Regions from separate parts of the Homo sapiens genome. Here all the other regions are linked to region 3. The links are contacts of gene promoters, found by promoter capture Hi-C in human tissues and cell types (Jung and others, 2019). All regions are on one chromosome and are shown on one strand. Each heading gives the region's core, a stretch centred on a gene start or on the middle of the fragment in contact. The rest is flanking DNA. Distances are from core to core; before and after follow the strand shown. Region 1 overlaps FAM167A (family with sequence similarity 167 member A). Region 2 overlaps FAM167A-AS1 (FAM167A antisense RNA 1). Region 3 holds the start of CTSB (cathepsin B).

What was found. The method cuts DNA at HindIII sites, captures the fragments that hold promoters and counts their contacts. A contact is called where the count stands out against the background at its distance.
Region 1: a fragment that was not itself captured here is called in contact with the fragment with the promoter of CTSB in region 3 in 1 of the 25 tissues and cell types used here (aorta).
Region 2: a fragment that was not itself captured here is called in contact with the fragment with the promoter of CTSB in region 3 in 2 of the 25 tissues and cell types used here (lymphoblastoid cells and thymus).

The regions. Positions count from the first base shown.
Region 1 is chr8:11,450,639-11,454,800 of GRCh38, reverse strand. All of the region lies in intron 1 of FAM167A (family with sequence similarity 167 member A), which reads left to right. Among named protein-coding and RNA genes, the nearest start is that of FAM167A, 14 kb to the left of the region's middle. RefSeq lists enhancers at 1,366-1,941, 1,942-2,517, 2,536-2,585, 2,518-3,093. The HindIII fragment of the contact is 6,640 bases long and covers 1-4,162 here.
Region 2 is chr8:11,413,438-11,417,601 of GRCh38, reverse strand. The region is part of intron 3 of FAM167A-AS1 (FAM167A antisense RNA 1); the gene reads right to left. Among named protein-coding and RNA genes, the nearest start is that of FAM167A-AS1, 47 kb to the right of the region's middle. RefSeq lists enhancers at 111-610, 534-763, 611-1,112. The HindIII fragment of the contact is 4,838 bases long and covers 1-4,164 here.
Region 3 is chr8:11,866,837-11,871,137 of GRCh38, reverse strand. It overlaps CTSB (cathepsin B), which reads left to right and starts at 3,051. Exons shown (of 10, transcript NM_001908.5): 1 at 3,051-3,137. RefSeq lists silencers at 2,898-3,017, 3,158-3,487 and an enhancer at 3,578-3,787. The HindIII fragment of the contact is 10,819 bases long and covers 1-4,301 here.

The sequences.
Region 1 (4,162 bases), core at 507-3,006, 420 kb after region 3:
TCCTCTGGGTGAGATAAGTGTTGGGTTTCTGATTAAACCCGGGCAGAAAAGCCTGCACACCCCAGGCTCGCCTCCCTAGGCCGACTGTGGAGCCATGTCCCAGACCTCCTAACCTCTTACTCACCCAGAACAAAGGGATTTGCCTTTTCAGAAAACAAAAGGAAAAGATGCAGGCATGAGCTTTGCCCTGCACCACCCTGAATTTTCTGTGTATGAAACCCCTTAGAGCCTCTGCACTCCCTTGGCTGTGGGGCTGGCCTCACTGTTCTCTGGCCTCTGAAGCCACCGCAGGTCCCAGCTCATGGCCCCTGCCTTTGTCTCCGGTTGAAATCAGGGCTGTGCCCTCTACTGATGGGCCTGGCCTGGCTGAAACCGCAACATCAGGGCAAGGTAGAGTGGAGATGCCTCTTCCTGCCACCCCTGCACCAGACAGGTGTTGACGGAGGAATCAGGAGATGCTGTCCTTGAGTGAAGCCACGAGTCTCTCTGATGTGGAGTTTTAGGCTTGGTGACACACACAGCAGGCTCAGCAGAGGAAACAGAGCGCTTTGCACACACACGTGGGCCTCCGCTCTCCAGCCAAGCCCACCCTGGCTTTGGCAGCAGAGCCATGGGCAACCCAGACGGTGTCGGGGTCAAGAAGGTGAGGCCGGCACTAAAGACATCCCATCCCCCAAGACCTGCCCTGCTGAGGATCCTGCAGGGCCCTAAGTCACAGTGTAGCTAATTCTTCCTTCCAGAAATTTCTGGGAGAACCCAGTTATACCTGCAGATGGAAAGCTTTCCACACGCGTGATAGCTAGTCCTGCCAGATAGTAGGTTCTAGAAGATGGCACAGCAACCCCAAGGAGTGTGGGCAGTAGGCTCTGGGCTGTCACTGAGGAGCCCCGGGCCTTAGGCTGGTCACATAGGCTGCCACCTCGGTTTGCTGCATGATGGGGTAAGAAGACCCAGCCTTCCCTGCAGTGTTTATGTGCTGCGGTGTAGACGTGCTCCATAAACTCAGTGAAGGTGGTTCTGCTGTGGAGTGGCCAGCGTCATAGGACAGCACAGAACCAAGACAGAGCTGGCTATCTCGGGGGGCAACTTGATTCCCAGAGGACACTCTTGCTTTGTTCTGTTTGAGTAGACCATGGGGAGGGTCACAGAGCCTCTGACCCGGTCCTGGTCCCCAGCTCAGCCTTCCTGGCTCCTGCTGCAGCCCTCCCCTCCACCTCCACAGGGAGCTGTGCATCTGCTGGTTTCAGTCCTTGCCCTGCCAGGTACAGTCTGAGTGCCACTGGGCCCGTGCCTTATCATCTCTGTGCCTCGGTCTCTTCATCTGTGTAATGGGACAATCATAGTGCATACTTCACAAGATTCTCATGCAAATAAGTGAGGTGCTATCTCCTTATAGTGCCTGGCACATATTGAGTGCTTCATACATATTAGCAGCTTGACAGTGTTACTAAAATGTTATTTAGAGTCAGGCATGGTGGCACATGCCTGCAGTTCCAGCTACTTGGGAGGCTGAGGCAGGAGATCAGTTGACCCCAGGAGTCTGAGGCTGCAGTGAGCTGTGATTGTACCACTTGCGCTCCAGCCTGGGCAACAGTGAGACCTCATCTCAATAACAAAGTTACTTAGTAGGAAAGTTATTAAGGGGCAGGATTCGAGTTGCATTTTAGAAGGATAACCGGCAGCAGGACAGAGGAGAGGAAGCCTGGAGGAGGGAGCTTTGTGGAGAAGGGGACAGCGTCCAAGTCCCCAGGCTCAGGCTGAGGGGTCAGGAGTGCAGGGGAATGGGGGCAGCCGTGATGAAGGGGACAGAGGGGGGAGATCACCCCAGCTTTCCTGCAGCAGATCTGTGTTCTGGGAACCAGCCAGCCTCTGTGGCCTCCACTTTCTCCTGCGTGAAGTCAGAAGGACGTGAGGCCCGAATGTGTGTGCTGATGCTCGGTGAACTCTGAGGAGACCTACCATTGCTCAGCCCGTGCTGGCACTGGGGAACGTGCCTGCACATTCCCCCAGCATTCATAGATGCTAAATAAAGCACCCTTTTTTCTGGGCCAGGATCTCAGGCCGTCACGTCTGTTTATGGGAGCTTGGGCTTCGGTTTCATGAGAAAAGTTATCTGTTTCCTCACCTGTAAAATGGGGATTTGAATAGGGTTAGTGCACCTCTTTCAGGCTGCAGAAACAGACCCGAGGCAACCTCGTGGGGTGGAGGCTGATGATGAGAAGGGAGGGAGCTGCAGGTGGAGGAAGCAGCAGCCTGTGGGAGACAGATGCAGCCACAGGCTCACTCCTTCATGCTCTTTCTGCCTCTGCTCACCCCCTCTCCCTCTGGGGACTGTCACAGTCCTGAAACAGCCCAGAGGCACCACTCCCAAAAGAGCACAGCTCACCAGACTTCTCGGCCCTTCAGTTGTTTGCCCTGATGTCCGGCTGTAGCCCAGCTGGGCTGGTCTCATGACCCAGCATGTATCCATTTTGCACAGGGAACCATGGGCGGCGTTTCTGCCAGAGGAGCAGAGCAAGGATAAATTCACTCATATGCGAAATTGTCATTCTGTCCTCATCAAGCATAGCCTGTCATGGATTGTGAGTTAGGAGACAAGTCAACTCTGCATGTGGACAGACTCAGTAAGATTTCATTAGGAGGACAGTGACCATCCACCCTGTGGTTCTCAATGGGAGGTCGCACAGCACCCCCTCCCTGCCCCCCACCACCAAGGGACACGTGGAATGGTGGCAGAGGGAGCCTTTTGGATTGTCATGACATTTTATGACACTGGTTTGCTCTCAGTTGTATATTTTCCTCACCAAATGAGTTGTGCTTCCTGTCTCATTTCAGTTACAGCTCTTGGTTGTGAGCAAGAGAAAATGACATTATTGTAAGGCTGTCAGGTGCCCACAGAATTGGCAGGAGGTAAAGACCAGAAAACAGGCAGAACCAGGGCAGATCCAGAAGGCAGAGGCAGGAGATCCCGGGCCAGTCCTTCAGCAGAGACAATTTGGCTAAGAGGATGCCACCGCCCCTGCACTTCACATTTGCCTCCAGGGTTGGTTCACAGATGCGCCCTAACCATCCCTTCCTCTGAGACTCACACGCACCCAATTCAGAGTCGGGGCCTGAACAGCTGACTGGCCAAGCTCAGGTCACATGCTCACACCTGGTCACCAGGGCATGAGCTGGGAAGAGGAGCACGTGGTCCTCTGGTTGCAGAGAAGGCTGCACGGCCTGCCTGCTGTTCTGCACAAAATGGGGAGCTCCCTCCACACAGGAAAGGAGAGGGTGTTGGATATGGCAAACAGACACACAGTCCAACGAAAGACAAATAGCAGCAAGCATCCACTGTGCTCTTTAATATTCCTTCTCCAGTGCGTGCTGTGTCAGTCACTTACGAATGTCAGAAACCCCATCTCCAAGTAGCTGAAGCAAAAAAGGCGGAAGGTATACGCTGTGTAACCTGGGCAGGGCGGGTGGCTTCCCACGGGGCCCAGCTGCGGGCCCCCAGCTCCTTGCCACTGGGCTGTGATGGCCAAGCTGCCACACTGTCGGCTTGGCTTTGCTCTCCAGTTAGACCCTTTCCCCACATGTGCTGAGCATGGTGGCCCCAGCGGCCCCGGCCAGCTCAGAGCAAGGCTGGCCTCTGAGTGGTTCTGACACCAAAACTTCATCCTGTGTCTCCCCACGCCCCAGGAGAAAGGAAACCCCAGGGATGGGCTCCTGTGGGAAAGGGGGATGCACTTTCCAGAAGAGGGAGGAAGCTGCTGGATGGAAATGACCTCATCCTGCACTGGACTCCAAGGAGGCCCTCAAGCTAGGTCTGTCACATCAGACTGTCCCCTCCAACTCCAGCACATAGTCCTGGGATTTGGGATGAGCTGCAGCTGTTCCTGTCTTTGTCCCACTGCAGGCCCAGAGCCTGCACACCTATGTCTGGACACTTGTGGTCAGGGCAGGCAGGGTGGGTGGCATCCGTGGGGACAGGAGGGGAGGCACCATCCCAGGAAGCCTGGGTGTCTTTTTCTGCCTCTCTGAGCCCATCCAGGCTGGCTCAGATTTGAGCAAGGACAGGTCGCTGTGAGTGGGAGGAAATCTGTTTTATTGGCTCATTCATTCCACAGCATTTAAAGAGAGCAGCATTGTGCTAAGTACTGGAGGGTCCAGCATAAAA
Region 2 (4,164 bases), core at 977-3,476, 450 kb after region 3:
AACAAATCAGTGGCACAGAGGAAGGGAGCCCGTGAGGTCGCTCCTATTTGTCTGTGAAATAGGGAAGTGAGTCGGAGGAGGTGGGATATTGGAGGTTTGCAAAGACATTTTTCAAATAATTACCTGAGAACGGGTGAGTTAATTAGGAAAGCGAAGATGGACCGTCTGGTCTGGTGGCGGGATTGCCCATTTGAGGCTGTGGTCATAAATGTGGGGTGTGTCCAGCAAGCCTGGTGGAGTGATTGATTTTTTCAGCAATATTTAGAAGTTCCAATACAGACAAAGACCAGGCAGACAGTGGGAGATAGGATTTGCCAAGCAGGTGACAGAGAACGGAAACAGCAAAAGTGAATGTTTTTTGCAAAGGAGCAATGTTAGTGTTAGACTGAGTCAGGAGGGAAGGACGACGAGAGGAAACGGGCCGGGAGAGCCAACGGAGCTGGAGGTAGGTGCATGGCCAGTGGTCTCCACGTGACCTGGGGGTTGCTAGGGTGAGTCCAGGAGAGATCAAGACTGAACAGGTGGAGACCAGAGTATGGGGAGAGGGGGAGCGACAGTTCAGATGTGGTGTGGCTTCTTCATTCAGAGACTCGGCCTGCTGCCACATTAGCTGCTGGTGCCCTGCTGAGCGTGGCCAGGTGCCCTGACCCATGGCTGGTGACGTCAAACTGTGGCTTCCTTGGCCTCCCAGAGATCTCGTCTCTCTTATGTTTGGAAAGGGTGTAAACTCCGTTTACACACACCCTTTTGACTTCTCAACAAGACCAGAAGCACTTCCCACTGGCTCCTTCTCCATGTCTAAGCCTGAAGTCTGTGGCCTAGACGACTTGGGGAAGGAGGCAGGCAGAAGAGGAGGAAGTTGGCAGTGACCAGAGCAGACAGGCCTGTGGTAACCAGACCCTATCTGATGGGAGCTGCTCAGCAGATTGAAGGTTTCAGACAGGGCTGTTTTTAAGTACCCCGTTCACAGGCTCAAAGCAAACAGCAAGGGAGACAGCTAGGCGGTCTCCAAAGGAAATTGATTAAGGAAGAGAAACCTCAGATGCGTTGGAACATTTATCATTTCTTTGAGGATACATGCTTGACGTGATGGATATTAATTACCCTGATTTGATCACTAGACACGGAATGCACAGAAACATCACTATATACCCCATAAATATGTACAATTATTATACATCAATTTTTTAAAAATTAAAAGGGAAAAAAGGTGTTTTAGCTAGGCATGGTGGCTCATGCCTGTAATCCCAGAACTTTGGGAGGCTGACATGGAAGGATTGCTTGAGCCCAGCAGTTCAAGACCAGCCTGGGTAACACAGAGAGACCTCATCTCTTTTTGTTTGTTTTTTTGAGACAGAGTCTGGCTCTGTTGCCCAGGCTGGAGTGCAGTGGTAGGATCTCAGCTCACTGCAACCTCTGCCTCATGGGTTCAAGCAATCCTCCTGCGTCAGCCTCCTGAGTAGCTGGGACTACAGGTGTGCACTGCCACAGCTGGCTAATTTTTGTATTTTTGTAGGGATGGAGTTTCACCATGTTGGCCAGCTTGGTCTGAAACTCTTGACCTCAAGTGATCTGCCTGCCTCGGCCTCCCAAAGTGCTGGGATTACAGGAATGAGCCACCATGCCCCACCCTTGTCTATTTTTTATTTTTTAATCATAAAAAAATGAAGGTGTTTGCAGGCTGTAAGAATCCGTCATCCACCACTCGCTGCCAGGAACATTCCCGCCTGCAAGATGGTTACGAGGAAAGTGAGGCTTGGTGCAGCTTTGCAGGACAGTAGGGTATTTCCTGAGCCATTTGTTAAACAGAAAGCCCTGCACTGCTCATTCTCTTACTCCCTTCTCCATGCAAAGACTACTGAAGCTAAGGGGCATTTGCTAAAGAACAGCCAGAGTCCCAAGGGAAACCTGAGTTAGAGATGACAAGCCACACTCCTTGGCTCGCTCCCGGAGACTCACCCACCCAGGTGGTCCTGGCCTAGGCCTGGAGGGAGGGCTTTCAGGGAGCTCACCTCTGCTCCCCCACCCACTGCACTCTCGGCCTCATCTGGGAGGGGTACCTGGGCCTGGAGCAGGACAAATGCGTCTCCAACCTGTCGCCTCTGCACCAGTCTGGGTTTGGTCAATAAAGTGGAAGCCCCCTCAGTCTTCCATGAAGGAAAGGACCTGATTCAGGAACTAAGGGTTCACAGAACCCTTAGAAGGGCGGGGACAGGCAGTGTCCGGGAAGAGGCTGTGAGAAGAGGTGACTCACAGAGCTCATCCCCAAAGTCGCCCGGATTTCACCCAGCTCAGCAGGGGGCCTTTTTTGCACCGCTGTAGCTGGAACGGCTATGGAAAGCTGGTGATTCTCAAGAGGTCTGTCCACACCTCTGCCTGCTGCCACCACCGGGAATAAAGCTTCACTTGCTATTGTGCACTGAATTATGACCCCCAAAAATTCACATGTTGAAATCCTGATCTCCAGCATCTAAGAATGGGACTATGTAAGAGGTAACTAGAGTAAAATGAGGTCATATGGGTGGGTCATAATCCAATCTGACTGACGTCTGCATAAGAAGAGGAGATTAAGACACAGACACTCACAGAGGGACGGCCACATGGAGACACAGGGAGAAGACACCACCTACAAGCTGAGGAGAGAGGCCTGAGAAGGAACCAACCCTGCCAGTACTTTGATCTTGGACCTCCAGCCTCTAGGACTGTGAGAAAACAAATGTCTGTTATTTAAGCCACGCAGTCTATGGTATCTTGTTATGGCAGTCACACCCAACGGGGATATTTGTTTTTCCTCTTTGACCCCTCTTCCTCTCCTCTCTACCCCACCCCCAGCTTTTAAAGCCCCCACCTGGAAGTGACTCATATCATTTCTGCTCACATTTCCTTGGTCTAAACAAGTCAGATGGCCAAACCTGACATCCAAAGTGTGGAGAAGTACCAGCTTAGCCTGGGCCCCCAAGTAGAGGAGAACTGCACTATTTGCAGATGGGATCTTAGTGATTACCTCTCATTCTTCCTCACCCCATCCAGAGTGGACCTGCAAAACCCCATCAGCCTGCAGCCCTAAGGACACCCTGACCAGCAGACTCTGACTTGCAGTGTAGACACGGGGCAGTACCAAGATGATGCAGCATGGAGTGAAAGGAAGAGAAGAGGCCAGGTGCAGTGGCTCCCGCCTGTAATCCCAGCAATTTGGGAGGCCGAGGTGGGAGGATCACTTGAGCCCAGGAGTTCTAGACCAGCCTGGGCAACATGGTGAGACCCTATCTCTACAAAAAGTAGAAAAAATAGCTACCCACATGCCCAGCTACTCAGGAGGCTGAGATGAGAGGATCACCTGAACCTGGGGAGGTCGAGGCTGCAGTGAGCCACGATCACGCCACTGCACTTCAGCCTGGGCCACAGAATGAAACCTTGTCACATGCACGCAAAAAGACGAGAACTTCTATTAATGTTTTAAACCTCTTCTTTTCTGCTTTCAATGTGCTCTAAATATGTATAATATATGGGTACAGACATGTATATTATATAAATCTGTTGGGGAATGCACAAACATTTTCACAGATGGAGGGCAAGTCAGACAAGAGTGAGGCCCGGCCTTTGCCTGCGCCACATTGGATTCACCCCATATCCAAGCCTCAGGCTGTGCCAAACTGGATGAGGGACGATGCTTCCTCATGCGAGGTGGCACGGGCACAGCCTCTGCCCAGTGTCCTACTGCCCCTGTGTGGCCACATATGGCGTCTGCACACACCTGAGTCGCTGGGTAAAAGGCACCATATTTCTGCCAATCTGCTCTGGGCTCTGTTCCCCTTGACAGACCTGTCACAGGACAAACCCCTAAACCGGGTTCAGCCTGGGAGGCCACATGGGTTCTTGGCTTTGCACAGGAAGAAATTCAAGAGTGAGCCGACAGAGTCAAGTGAAAGCAAATGTATTAGGAAAGGAAAGGAATAAAAGAGTGGCTACTCCATAGGCAGAGCAGCCCGGGACTGCTGGTTGGCTATTTCTTTATTGATCATATGCTGAAGAAGGAGTGGATCATTCATGAGTTTTCGAGGAGAGGGGCAGGGAATTCTCGTAACTGAGGGTTCCTCCCCCTTTCAGGCCATATAGGGTAGCTTCCAGGCATTGCCACAGCACTTGTGAACTGTCATGGCGCTG
Region 3 (4,301 bases), core at 1,802-4,301:
TTTTGTGAGGACGTATGTTTTCACCTCTTTCAGGTGTTAACTTAGGCCTCTTTTACGGATGTTCAACAAGCAAACAGCTTTTACACACGTGAGTCAAGGCCTCTCTGTAAGTTCTGAGAGCTGTTCCCCAGGCCCTGAACCCTGACCCCCAAATCTAGCAGGTTAAGCCAAAATTCTCCTCAACTTCAAGGCCTACTTCATTCATTATGCATCCACTCAACTCACATTTCTCTATCCTCTGCTATGGGCCAGACACCCTGCAATGAGCTGGGATGAAGCAGGGGAACACCGCAGGTAAAAATGCTTGCCTGGGTGGGGCTTAAGATCCAGTGAGGGCAGGAAGGAACATATACAAGTAAATATGCTGTATGTTCCTTTCTCCATGAAGCTTTCCTGGATGTTCCAGGAAGGGACGAATTCTACTCTGGTAGTAATATATTTCTTTTCTTGTCTTTTGAGGAGTCTTGCCCATGTTGGAGTGCAATGGCGTGATCTCGGCTCACTACAACCTCTGACTCCCTGGTTCAAGGGATCCTCCTGCCTCAGCGCTCGAGTAGCTGGGATTACAGGCCCGCAATGCCACACCCAGCTAATTTTTGTATTTTTAGTAGAGACGGGGTTTCACCATGTTGGCCAGGCTGGTCTTGAACTTCCAACGTCGTGATCCGCCTGCCTTGGCCTCCCAAAGTGCTGGGATTACAGGCGTGAGCCACTGCGCCTGGCCTATTTCTTTTTTTCTTTTCTTTTCTTTTGAGATGGAATCTTGCCCGGGTTGGAGTGCAATGGCGTGATTTTGGCTCACCGCAACCTCCACCTCCCGGGCTCAAGCGATTCTCCTGCCTCAGCCTCTCAAGTAGCTGGGATTACAGGCGCGTGAACCACCACGCCCAGCTAATTTTTGTATTTTTAGTAGAGACTGGGTTTCACCATTTGGGCCAGGCTGGTCTGGAACTCCCGACCTCAGGTGATCTGCCTGCCTCAGCCTCCCAAAGTGCTAGGATTACAGTGGTGAACCACCGCGCCTAGCCTGTTTCTTTTGTTTCAAAAGTGATTTTTACCTCTCAAAAGTGATTTCTATAATGACACTGATGGAAAATTCCATCAAATAGCCATAACGCATGTCAAGCACTCTGCTCTGCATACCTTCTGTCACACTCTAAGGATGAGAGAGGGGAGAGTTATCCTGGTTCTGGCTGTGTCCTCCCCATTTTGGCCATCTTATGAGCTCCTTATAGAGGTCTGAAATGATTTGGAGTCCAGAGTCCATGGCTGTCAGGATATGACTAGGGTGAGCAGGCAGTTGGGACCACCTTGACCTCCAGCCTCCTGGTCCTCAGTTCCTCGGGTATCCCACTCTGCTGGGGGCTTAGTGACCATGTTTGGGCTCCAGAGATTATTTTTTCCTTCCACTCCTATCCTTAGTTTGTTACTAACCAGGCGGGAGTACAGGCATGTCTCTGAAGACAGGCTCAGGGCTGTGTGACAGCTGACGACCAGGCTGCAGGGAACCAGGTCCCATGCAGTCCTACTGCCTTTTTTTTTTTTTTTTTTTTTTTTTTTGAGGCGGAGTCTCGCTTTTCGCCCAGGCTGGAGTGCAGTGGCACGATCTCAGCTCACGGGTTCACGCCATTCTCCTGCCTCCGCCTCCCGAGTAGCTGGGACTACAGGCGCCCGCCACCACGCCCGGCTAATTTTTTGTATTTTTACTAGAGACGGGGTTTCACCGTGTTAGCCAGGATAATCTTGATCTCCTGACCTCGTGATCCGCCCGCCTCGGCCTCCCAAAGTGCTGGGATTACAGGCGTGAGCCACTGCACCCGGCTACTGCCTTCTTACTGTCGCCACAGCCTGGATAAAATACGATTCTTCTGAGCCTTTTTTTTTTTTTTAATACAGAGTTTCACTCTTGTTGCCTAGGCTGGAGTGCAATAGTGCGATCTCTGGTCACCGCAACCTCCGCCTCCCGGGTTCAAGCGATTCTCCTGCTTCAGTCTCCCGAGTAGCTGGGATTACTGACACGCGCCACCACGCCCGGCTAGTTTTGTATTTTTAGTAGAGACGGGGTTTCTCCATGTTGGTCAGGATGGTCTCGAACTCCCGACCTCAGGTGACTCACCGGCCTCGGCCTCCCAAAATGCTGGGATTACAGGCGTGAGCCACCGAACCCAGCCCCTCTGAGCCTCTTGAATACAACTGGGGTCATGCCTGCTTTGCAGGTTTGTCTTAAGGATTAAAGCTGTTTGGGGAGTGTCTGGAGGAGGGTGAGTCTTGAGCCAACCCCTGCATCTCCCTTCCAGGGCCTCCCGGTAATAAACCCCAAGTAAATGTGCACTTTGTCCGTCCTCTCGGAGCAGGTCTCCGGGTACTCCTGTGCCAAACCGATTTCCGCCCCCAAGGTCCTTCTCCTCTTAGAAATCCTGACGCAGCTCCTAGGTTCCTTCGCAGTGACAGCCACTCTTTTCTATTTGTACGTAGCTGTAGTGTTTTGTGGGTACGTTCTCTGAACAACAAAGTGGCCCTTCTAAAGGCTGTTCTGTGGGGTCCACAGCCTCGCCACCCCCAGCCTCTGCAGCGGCTTCTGAATGAATGAAATAAGCGACGGCGCCCTCTCCACCACCCCACCCCCGCCAACTCGGCAGGCAGGGATCCCAGGCGCGGGTTCTGGCGGAGGCGGTCCCGCGAGGCGGGGGGACTTTTCTAGGCGGGGTGGGGGCCTTGGGACCACCTTTAGGGGCTTTTTCCCCATCCCCTGGCCCCAATTCGCAGCGTTTCGCCACCCAGGGCCCGCAGGGCTCCAAGCCCTTCTTCCCCAGCCCGCGCGCTCAGGCCCCCGCCCGCCCCCGGCGGTGGCCCCGGACCCCGAGCGGAAGGGGGCGGGGGGTGTGCGGGGCCGGGAAGCGGGGAGCGCGGGCGGCGGAAGGTGGCGGGAGGGGGTGGGGGCTGGGAAGCACCGTGCGCGGGCGGCGGGAGGGCCCGGGCGGGGCTGCGCGGTGGTCACGTGGGGCGGGGCCGGGAGGGTACTTAGGGCCGGGGCTGGCCCAGGCTACGGCGGCTGCAGGGCTCCGGCAACCGCTCCGGCAACGCCAACCGCTCCGCTGCGCGCAGGCTGGGCTGCAGGCTCTCGGCTGCAGCGCTGGGTGAGTGCTGGGGACCCGGGGCCACCGCAGCGTAAGTGACCTTGGCGGGGACGGTGCTACCCGGCCGCCGAGACGGGTTCCTCTGCGCCCTCAGTCGGGCCCAGGCGCGGCCCCGCGGCGTCCCTGGGGGCCGGCGGGGAGCCGGGACCCTCGGGACTGTCCCTGACGGGCGGGCTGGGGTGGGAGTCCGCGCGCTCCGAAGCGTCGGCGAGAAAAGCAGAAAACAGCTCCGCCCGCCAGCCCTCTGCCCTCCGCTCCCCTCCCCGGGCTGTGCGCCGGACCCCGGCCCTCGGAGCGGGGACGCGGCCAGGACCGCCGAGGGAGGCGCCTGCGAGGAAGAGCTCGGCCGGGTCCGGAGACTGCTGCCTGGGACCGCGCTCCCAGCGCCTGGGCCTCGGTGTCTCCGGGCCAAACTGCCGACATAATCGCATCTGCCGGCATCTATTTTCGGTTTATTTCCCCCTCATTGCGAAGGATTTGCCTGGCCAACTTTCTGCGCAAGATCCCACGCAATTCCTGGGACCCCAGAAGACAGGTCCTGTTGAAGAACAGGAATCTGGCACTGGGTGGGCTGGGGAGGAAGCCGCACGGTGTTAAATCCATAAACAGGAAGAGAAACCAGACAGCGAAACCAAGAGGCGAATGGGCGATTGGATGCCGGTGGGGAGAAGGCCGGGGGCGCACCCTGCTCCTGGACTCCAGTAAAGGGAGGCCGGGCAGAGTCCCTGGGGCGCCACCTCCCCCTCGGTTAGTAGCCCTGGAGGCCGGGGGGAGTTGGCCTCTGGGGAGCAGTGGGTGCTGGGTGTGGGGCGTTGCAGGCAGGCTGGGGTGGGCGACCCAGGTGGAAGTGAATTGCACTTGGCTTCCTGGTGGGCCTCTGTCACCCCCTTCCCAGGCGCTGAGAAAGCCAGCAGGCTGGCAAAGAAAAGGACCCTAGCGCAGGCCCCACACTCCTCCTCCTAACGGACGAGAGACCCCCCAAACCCACTGGAGAAGTGACGCTGTGGGGTTCAAATGCAGACCTGGCACCTTTTTGTAGCCTGGAAAAACATTCCCACTGCCTGCTGCCGGAGGAGAGGATAGCTGAGATGCACTCTCTTTGAATCCAAACGTTCAGGAACGTAAGGCGAAGAGGCCTAAGAGGGCGTTGGCTGGCTCTGTCTC